Linked DNA regions of Homo sapiens: all the other regions are linked to region 2. The links are contacts of gene promoters, found by promoter capture Hi-C in blood cells and fetal thymus (Javierre and others, 2016). All regions are on one chromosome and are shown on one strand. The core of a region is centred on a gene start or on the middle of the fragment in contact, and the rest is flanking DNA. Distances in the headings are between cores, read along the strand shown.

Region 1 (2,726 bases), core at 78-2,577, 780 kb after region 2:
TGGACATTCAAAAGAAAATCATTGAAGCCTCATTTTATTTTCCTGGAAAAATTGCTGAAGTTCTTGGGTATATTTGTGAAAATTTCTGACCTTTCCTGGGATCTTCTGGGCATGGATAAAGTGAAGAATGCTGTTATTTTGCTATTGGTTTGAATGAAAGCTGTATTAAATCCAGAGAAACCAATCAACACCTGATACATTTTTTTGTTCCTTCCAAGAATTGGCAACTAGTTGCAATTGTCATCTATACTTTGTTATATATAGGATCAGACTTGTTTTCTTTTTCTCATTTTAGTTTCATTTCTTTTTGGTGTTGAAGTGATAATAGAAACTTTTATCAGGCCAAGAGCAGTGGCTCACGCCTGTAATCCCAGTAATTTGGAGGGCCGAGGTGGGCAGATCACCTGAGGTCAGGAGTTCCAGACCAGCCTGGCCAACATGGTGAAACCTTGTCTCTACTAAAAATACAAAAATTAGCTGGGCGTGGTGGAATAGAGTGAGACTCCATCTCCAAAAAAAAAAAAAAAAAGAAACTTTTATCCTTCACTACTTATAATGTCGATACGTCGATATTTTAAGGGGACTTAAAACCTTTTCAGGTACCAGGAGGCAGGGGCTTCTGTATTTGCATATTTAACTTCAATTTATAATGAACAAATCAAATATAGAATAGGAAAAATGCAATAACAAATATGTGAATAAAATATAAAAGTATTTGTACAACATCCCTTAGTTTAAAAGATACACTATTTTAAAAATAGTTTAATGATATTTGCCAGATTGTTTTCCTCTTCGATTGTTTGCTTCTGAGGCTTTGTTTTGCACCCTCAGGTTTGTTGTCAGCTGATAAGCAATATCTCTGCAAGAGTTTAAATAATCCACTACTTACTTAGCCACATACATGGAGCTGCTTACTTGAATTTGTCTGATACCAATGATTTCTTATTTCTCAGGAACTGATCCATGTTTCCTTGGTCCTGAATGTTGGAGTAAACTCCCTATGCTGGTTTTCCACAAAGTGAGGCAGTAGAAAACTTAAGTTAAAAGTCAAAACCCTCCTTATTGGGTTTGTGAAACATCACTTAAATGAGGGAGGCCTTAGTTTTATACTCTAAAATGGAGTTAACGTTATTCTTTTATTTCTCTTACATGGTTGTTTTGAGACTCAAATGGTATGATGTCCATGTTTTGGTGACTGGACATGATACACTGGAATGAAACTAGCATAGACTGACCCTCTATTAGGAGCCGTGTACTGGGCTGAGTGGATTTACAGACCTTGTCTCATGTGGCCACATGCAGGATTTGGATATATTATTATGATGCAGCATGACGGTCCTAATAGTCTTTGATTATTGTAAAGCAAATTTTCTGCTCCAGTTCTTTGACCCTCACAGTGGAGATCTTCAATCCCATTATGTCTTCCTGAGTTGTTTCTAATAGACTCACTCAGGCTGTCCCCGGTGAGTAACTCACTGTAGCCCTGTGACCTTGGGACGCAGCCTGTCCAAAGGGAAGACCACCCAGTAACTCAGACTCCACATTGCTTAGCCATCTCAGAGTGCTCTGTCTATCTTACTACCCAACCCCCTACTTCCAGCAAATTTAAGAGCTGTCAGTTCCACCTCGGTAATATCTCTTACATCAATTTCTACTCCCTGTCGGCTTTGTTAGTGGCCTATTTCAGGTAGTTGTTAGGTCTCACGCAGAACTCCCTGTGGGGTGGCCAGTGAGTGGGCCTCCTCCGAGGCTGCCACGCCCCCTGCTGGTGGGGGAGGGCATTCCTGAAGGCAGCTGGAGAAGCAGCAGGGCCAGGGTAAGAATTTCATCTGGGGCCTGGGCCTCAGAATTCATTTAGACTTTGACATCTGTTTCCTTTGGTCTAGAGGTGGTACCAAGGGGATGACTTGGTGGCGTGGGTTGGGGGTGCTTTAGTTTCCTCATAATTTTCATCACAACTTAATAGACCCACCCTGAGAAGATACAATCCAAGTTTACTATGCACATACAGCTTTAAGCCACCAACACCCCTTCCAATGAGATTGCCACTTCTGAGCTCCCTCTAATATAGAAATTCCAGAGACATGGAACCTAGTCCTTCAACTGGACTTGCCTGGCATCTTCAGTGTCGTATTTGACCTACTGTACTTGCCAGATCCAGCTTTGCTACTTGTTTTTCCTCCCTTGACTGCCTGTTTCTAAGTCTTGATCTCATTCATCTTTCAGATTCTTGATGTCTTCCATTACCCTGGTCTGTCCCAACTCCAGACCTCCCTGCTTCCTCCTCAAATGAAAAGAAAGAGGGTTTACTGTGAAATTGAACATAAGAAATGAAATTCAAAGCAGTGGATTTAAAACTATTTTGACTATTTTACATTAAGGCCAAGTGAACACACACACACACACACACACACACACACACATATACATATAATTACTTATACGCTAGCACATGTGATGTTTTTCTATTCTCTTTTATTTCGTGTTTTTTAAAAAGTCAGTGCTCCTGATTCACCAACTGGTCCCAATTGATTGAAGGAGCTCAATTTGCTGTTTTAAAATGCTGTTCTAAGGAAATATACACGGGAAAAGTGGAACTAAACTGAGTGGGGCCTTATTTATAACAGTAAGCAGGGTTTTATCTGAATTTTAGTTGTTTGTGAGTTGTCTCCTTTTCTTTACCTAGTATGTATGGATGAATTGGGAAGGAGAATTATAATTCATCT
Region 2 (2,814 bases), core at 46-2,545:
TCTGGTTCTAATTAATCCGGAATCAACCGTGAATATATACCTCATGCATCTTTGCAATTCTGCCAGTGTAGTAAAGGACTCGTTCTGTTAATGTAGTTTTCCCAGAATCAATGTGAGCTGAGATTCCAATATTTCGTATTTTTTCATTAGGAATCACCCCTGATGAAGACCATCGGCAGGCCTTCCAATTAACCTGAAAAAAATACGAGAGCTCAATTCTATGCACCTTTTATAAGAGAGAACAACAGACAATTAAAAGGAGTATGGTGGACATTATTCCTCCAAGAAATCTCACTGGATATGAGATAGCTTGAGAAAGGCACCAGGGGAAACCTTTAAGCCTGGAACTCTTGTAATCAGAGGACAGACTTCAAAACAAGACAGTAAAGACGTATTCTTTTAAAATTAATTAATGAATAAGTTAAATTTAATTAAAATGGGAGACACTTTTTACTGCAGATTTGAAAATACACACTGGGGCAGATAAAATCACAAAGACAGCTCCAAAAAATACTTTAATAGAAAATACAAATTTTAGCTTAAATTTAACTTAATTTTTTTCCCTTTCTCCTTTATTGTAGTTCACAGATGACAAATATGTTTGAGAACTTATATGCTCTATGCAGTGATGCTAGTAGCTCCAAGACAGCCCCCAAAGATTTCCAATTCCCTCCAAACAAAAACAATTCATGAAGCTTGTTTTAACTTTACTCTGGTGGCAGGGGATGGGGATCCCTATTAGATGGAATGAAGATACAATATAAACCTTTCCCTATAGGACTGCACATCCAAAATGCACAATTATTCACGGGAAAAGAGAGGCAAAAAAAAAAAAAAAAAACCTTAGAAAAGGTGGATAAAATATCAAAGTATCTGAGTGACAGACACTTTTAGTTGATTAAACCCTAGGGATACCAGAGAGCGAAACAAACGAGCTAACGAGCTAATGTGCAGGCACCGAGGTGCTTTTCAGCACTGACGAGCGACTGCCAGTATTCGGAGCTGTCAGTCATGAGGACCCAGGGGGTGTCACGGCCTTCCATTGCCCAGAAGGGATCACAAGGTTCCGGGAATGGTCCCGATTTAGCCTCTCTATGCTCCGGTACCTGCTTCCTCTGCCAGCCTAGGGAGGCGGGGGCCCTTCCGCGCCCCAGAGCCGCGACGGCTGCAGCTCCCAGGAGTCTCATGGCAAGCGCAGAGCACGCGTCAAAGTCCCGTGGCGCCGGGTGGGTTCAGCTGCCGGTAACGCACCGGGAAGCGGTCAAAGTCACGCCGGCAGCCAATGTTGTAAGAGCACTTCCGGGGCAAAGGACGCGAGGAAAAAGAGAGTGAGGAAAAGAAAGAAGAGCAACTGGATTGGAGGCGGAGCAGTGCCTACGCTGCTCGCGCGCCGTCTGCCGACTTGGAAGAGAAAGTGCAATCGCTTTGCGGAGCTAAAGAAGTGTTTGCTCCCAGTAAGACGGCATAGGTATATGGGTGAGGGAAGGGAGTCCTTTTGTCTTCGTCTTCTTTTTTAAATATTACCTCTGTATGAAGATACAGAATTTAAACATGGTTGTTAGGCCTATAAAGCAATGTGGAGAAATGTATATAACAATTTAAGTAGAAAAGAGCAAAATTGTCTATTACAAATATTAATAGGTATATATATGACATGGCCTGAAAAAGAACGTGGACAAATTATAGTGAATGAACTATCAATTACAATTACAAATACTTTTCCTCATGTCAAAATGTTATTTGTTATTGTTCGATGTCAGACATTTCATGTCCTGTCCATGTGGAAGACTGCATCCTTGACCATTCTGCTTGGATGTGTTAAGAGGCATGTTGAACCTAACAGGTCCAAAACTGAGCTTCGGATCTTCTTCCCCAAACCTTCCACAGTCTTATCCATCTCATAAATGTAAACTTTAGTGATTCTAGCCAAAAATATTAGTCGCTTTGACACCATGCTGTGACATCTCCGGTCTAATCAGTCAGCATATCCTGTAAGCTCTACTTTCAAAAAGACATCCAGGGCCGGACGCGGTGGCTCACACCTGTAGTCCCAGCACTTTGGAAGGCCGAGGCGGGCAGATCACGAGGTCATGAGATGGAGACCATCCTGGCTAACACAGTGAAACCCCGTCTCTACTAAAAATACAAAAAAAAATTAGCCGGGCGCGGTGGCGGGCGCCTGTAGTCCCAGCTACTCGGGAGGCTGAGGCAGGAGAATGGTGTGAACCCAGGAGGCGGAGCTTGCAGTGAGCCGAGATCACGCCACTGCACTCCACCCTGGGTGACAGAGCGAGTCTCAAAAAAAAAAAAAAAAAAAGAAAATCCAGAACTTACTTCTCCCCACCTCTCAGTACTGCCGTTTCTGGAGGGAACTATTGTAATAGCCTTGTAACCGATCTCACTGCTTCTATCCTTGCTGTTGTCAGTGGGCCGGTTCAGGTGCTTGACTTCACCACACAAAAGAATTTGAAAGCAAGTACAAAGTAAGAGTAGGCAAAAAAGTTTATTGTAAACCAAAAGTACACTCTGAGAGGCAGAGTGGGCTGCTCAGAAGAGAGACAGACAGCCTTTAGTATCTCTAGGGAATTCCCTTTATGGGTGAGGCAGGAGAACAGGGTCTAGAGACAGGGAACCGAAGGCCCTGCTGACTTCCTAGAGCTGAACCAAAAGGAAAACCCCACCTCTCCATGCCCAAGTAACAAAAGGATCGGAGGCTACTCCCAATGCACTGCATTGCAGATGAAAAAATGGAAAGTACCTCTGACTGGTCCCCTCTGGCAAATAATCAGACTGGTAGCAGGCCAAGTCCTCATG
Region 3 (2,747 bases), core at 101-2,600, 610 kb before region 2:
TCAAAAAATGACAGGGCCATCATGTCACACCAGGCTATTACCCAAAATTGCTACATTGTTTTTTAATGATGGAACTATGCTATGTTATTCTCTGTATCATAGAAAAGTGTTTACATGTTATTTACTCCCCTTGGCGATTCCTACAACATGACCTTCAAAGATTAAATTGTTCCAGTATTAAGCTGTCTTAATACCATCTCCAGATGTTATTTTACTGTAAGAGGGAACTAAAGTAAAATTTAGAAGCACCTCATCTCTCAATCATAAGGAATCACTTTCAGCCTTCTTCTCCTAGATTTACCATAATTCTTGTTCACAAGTCTCCTTTGTGGCTACAGAGTAAATTACCCACTACCTTGACATTTTTTTTTTGAAACTAGACAATGCTATTCATTATAATTATTTAAAGGCTTGTTGAAGTAAGAAAGCACATGTTGTGTGCTCCTATATTTTGAATTATAAATAAAGTGTAAGGGTTTACTTCTAAACAGATGACAAATACATTTTCAACAATTTTTCTTTTTGCTAGGTCAGTTCCTGTGTATCTTCTCTTATAGCAGGGGTGGCACAATCTGCCTGCCTCTGCCCTTTTTCTGTATATCCCTGTGTGTTTTGCAGTGCGGTTGGCTCTGTCATGCACTCACAGCCACTTGGGGGACTCACAGCCAGTGCAGTCCGGGTTGCCAATGCATATGTTTATCTAGAAGAGGAGAGGAGAGGGTTCCCAGAGAGCTAGGGTGCTTAGAGAAGGCTTGAGGGAGTCCTAGTATTTTAATTAGTCCTGAAGCATGGATGGGATTGAGATTGATGGAGAGGAAGAAGATCTTTGGGCAAAGGCACAGAAGTGAAGACACCAGGCAGGAAGCAGGAGGATCCCAGAGAAGAGCAGTAAGTCTGAGGCTACAAAGATGGCAAGAGGCTCTCAGAAGCCACCTGGGGTCAGGCTGGGGGCAGACTGTGCAGTGGGGCACAGACTGGGCAGTGTGGGCAACCCTGCTTTGGTGCAGTTGATAATTGGTTTCAACTTTTCAAGAACAGCCAGAAATCTTGATTTTTTATGAGAAAGTACTATTTTTTATATGTTACCAAACAATTATAAAAAATTCAAAATACATTATAACTCAAGTAGGCTGAATTTAGGGATGGACAAAAGAGGACACCATCAGAGAGGATACATTGAATCTGAGTATCTTGGAAACAATAGCTGACATACATAGAGCTCTTTTTTGTGTTGATTCTCTCATTCAATCCTTACCACAAGTGAACTGTGAGGGAGGCACCATGATTATCACATGGGTAGATTTTGCGTGCCCAATATTAATTTCTCCTTTTCATTGGTTTTGCGGATCCACCAACTCTTTACCCACGAGCTTTGGATGAAACAGATCCTACCCTATCACTGTAGAGGGTGGTCCATTCCCCCGGGCTGACTAGCCAGAGGGCCGTGGTTGGTTCAGTTTGGAGATGCACACATGGTTCAAGCCAGGTCTATTAAAGGCTGCTCTGGGGATTGTACTGAGACTATGAGAAAAAGGCCCTCTTTTTCATCTAAAGTTTCAGCAAGTAGAGCTGAAACTACCTGCAAGCCTAGAGCTGGCAGTGGCCACTTTGTTGCAATGTTGTGAGAACCCACATGAGAATGAATCATGGAAAGAGCAGAGTTTATAGAAGAAGAAAGACAGATGCCTGATAACCTTGCCCAATCGCCCGGGTTTCAGTGTGCTTAAAGCACGTTAGACCATGGGTATTTCTGTTATGTGATTCAATATGATCTTTTTTACATCTATAAATTAGTTTGAGCTGAGTTTCTGATACTTACAACCAAACAGTCCTGGCCGGTCTCAGGAAACAAGATGGGAACTGATCATCATTCCCAAAACTCAGAGCAGATCCCTGCCTCCCCATTACGTTTGTTCCCTCCTTACGGTTCAGCAAAAGGCAGAAATAGAGAAACAGGATGGAGACAGTGGGTTTGGCTTGTCATATACTGACTGTGAGTGGAGAAGTAGAACCCCTACTTATTTCAGTCTGTTAGTTGATTTTTCTATATGCAGCTAGCTAAAAGCTATCCTAACAGATATATCATATTTGCATCATTTGTTATCTATCCCAACCCTGTATCCTGATACAAACTTGTTCAAATGTCAATACGGGGCCACTGCATGCAACAGGCAGGTTTCCCACAGAAACTGCCCTCTCTTTCCAGCCTGCTTCCCCTCCACTCCAGTATCCGCCCGGTTTGTAGCTCTCGACTTCACTGCCACACTGATGGATGATGCTTCCTACGCACCAGGGCCTATGCTCTCTTGGCTCTTTCCATAGGTCTCTTCTCAAATACCCATAACTTTGCAGACTGTCAAGAATGTCAATGTTCTCACACATGAGAATTTGGGCAATTTGGGTCCTGGATCTATAACACTCTTTTCTTTATGAGGACTGAGAAGGTGCTTCAGAAATAATGCACCCAGGGTTACTGAGTCTAAGAAAGAAAATAGTGGTCCTGCAATACTATTAAACATCCAAAAAGAAGAGTATCAGATTAGGCTAATCCAAATGCTTCTTTTCAAACAAGTCCTCTTCCCCCACTAGAATGTAAAATCCTTGAGGGCAGTGACCACTCCACAGTTCTGGGATATATGACAAGTAGGTGATTAACAAATGTAATTCTTCTAACATTGCATCCCAGAAATAGCTCAAAGAAGAAAAAGTTTTATCTCATGATAAAGTATGCTTAGAGTCATAGAGGT

What was found. Contacts are between HindIII fragments. The CHiCAGO score rates a contact against its expected background, and 5 or more counts as called.
Region 1: a contact is called between a fragment that was not itself captured here and the fragment with the promoter of GFM1 in region 2, in 1 of 17 cell types (M2 macrophages). The highest score is 7.4, in M2 macrophages.
Region 3: a contact is called between a fragment that was not itself captured here and the fragment with the promoter of GFM1 in region 2, in 1 of 17 cell types (M0 macrophages). The highest score is 5.4, in M0 macrophages.

Annotation. Positions count from the first base shown.
Region 1 is chr3:157,864,570-157,867,295 of GRCh38, reverse strand. No RefSeq gene overlaps it. Among named protein-coding and RNA genes, the nearest start is that of SHOX2, 240 kb to the left of the region's middle. The HindIII fragment of the contact is 3,328 bases long and covers 1-2,726 here.
Region 2 is chr3:158,643,008-158,645,821 of GRCh38, reverse strand. GFM1 (G elongation factor mitochondrial 1) reads right to left here and starts at 1,295. Exons shown (of 18, transcript NM_024996.7): 1 at 1,107-1,295; 2 at 41-193. The coding sequence starts at 1,187. The HindIII fragment of the contact is 2,960 bases long and covers 698-2,814 here.
Region 3 is chr3:159,257,043-159,259,789 of GRCh38, reverse strand. All of the region lies in intron 3 of IQCJ-SCHIP1 (IQCJ-SCHIP1 readthrough), which reads right to left. The region is part of intron 3 of IQCJ (IQ motif containing J); the gene reads right to left. Among named protein-coding and RNA genes, the nearest start is that of SCHIP1, 15 kb to the left of the region's middle. The HindIII fragment of the contact is 4,962 bases long and covers 1-2,747 here.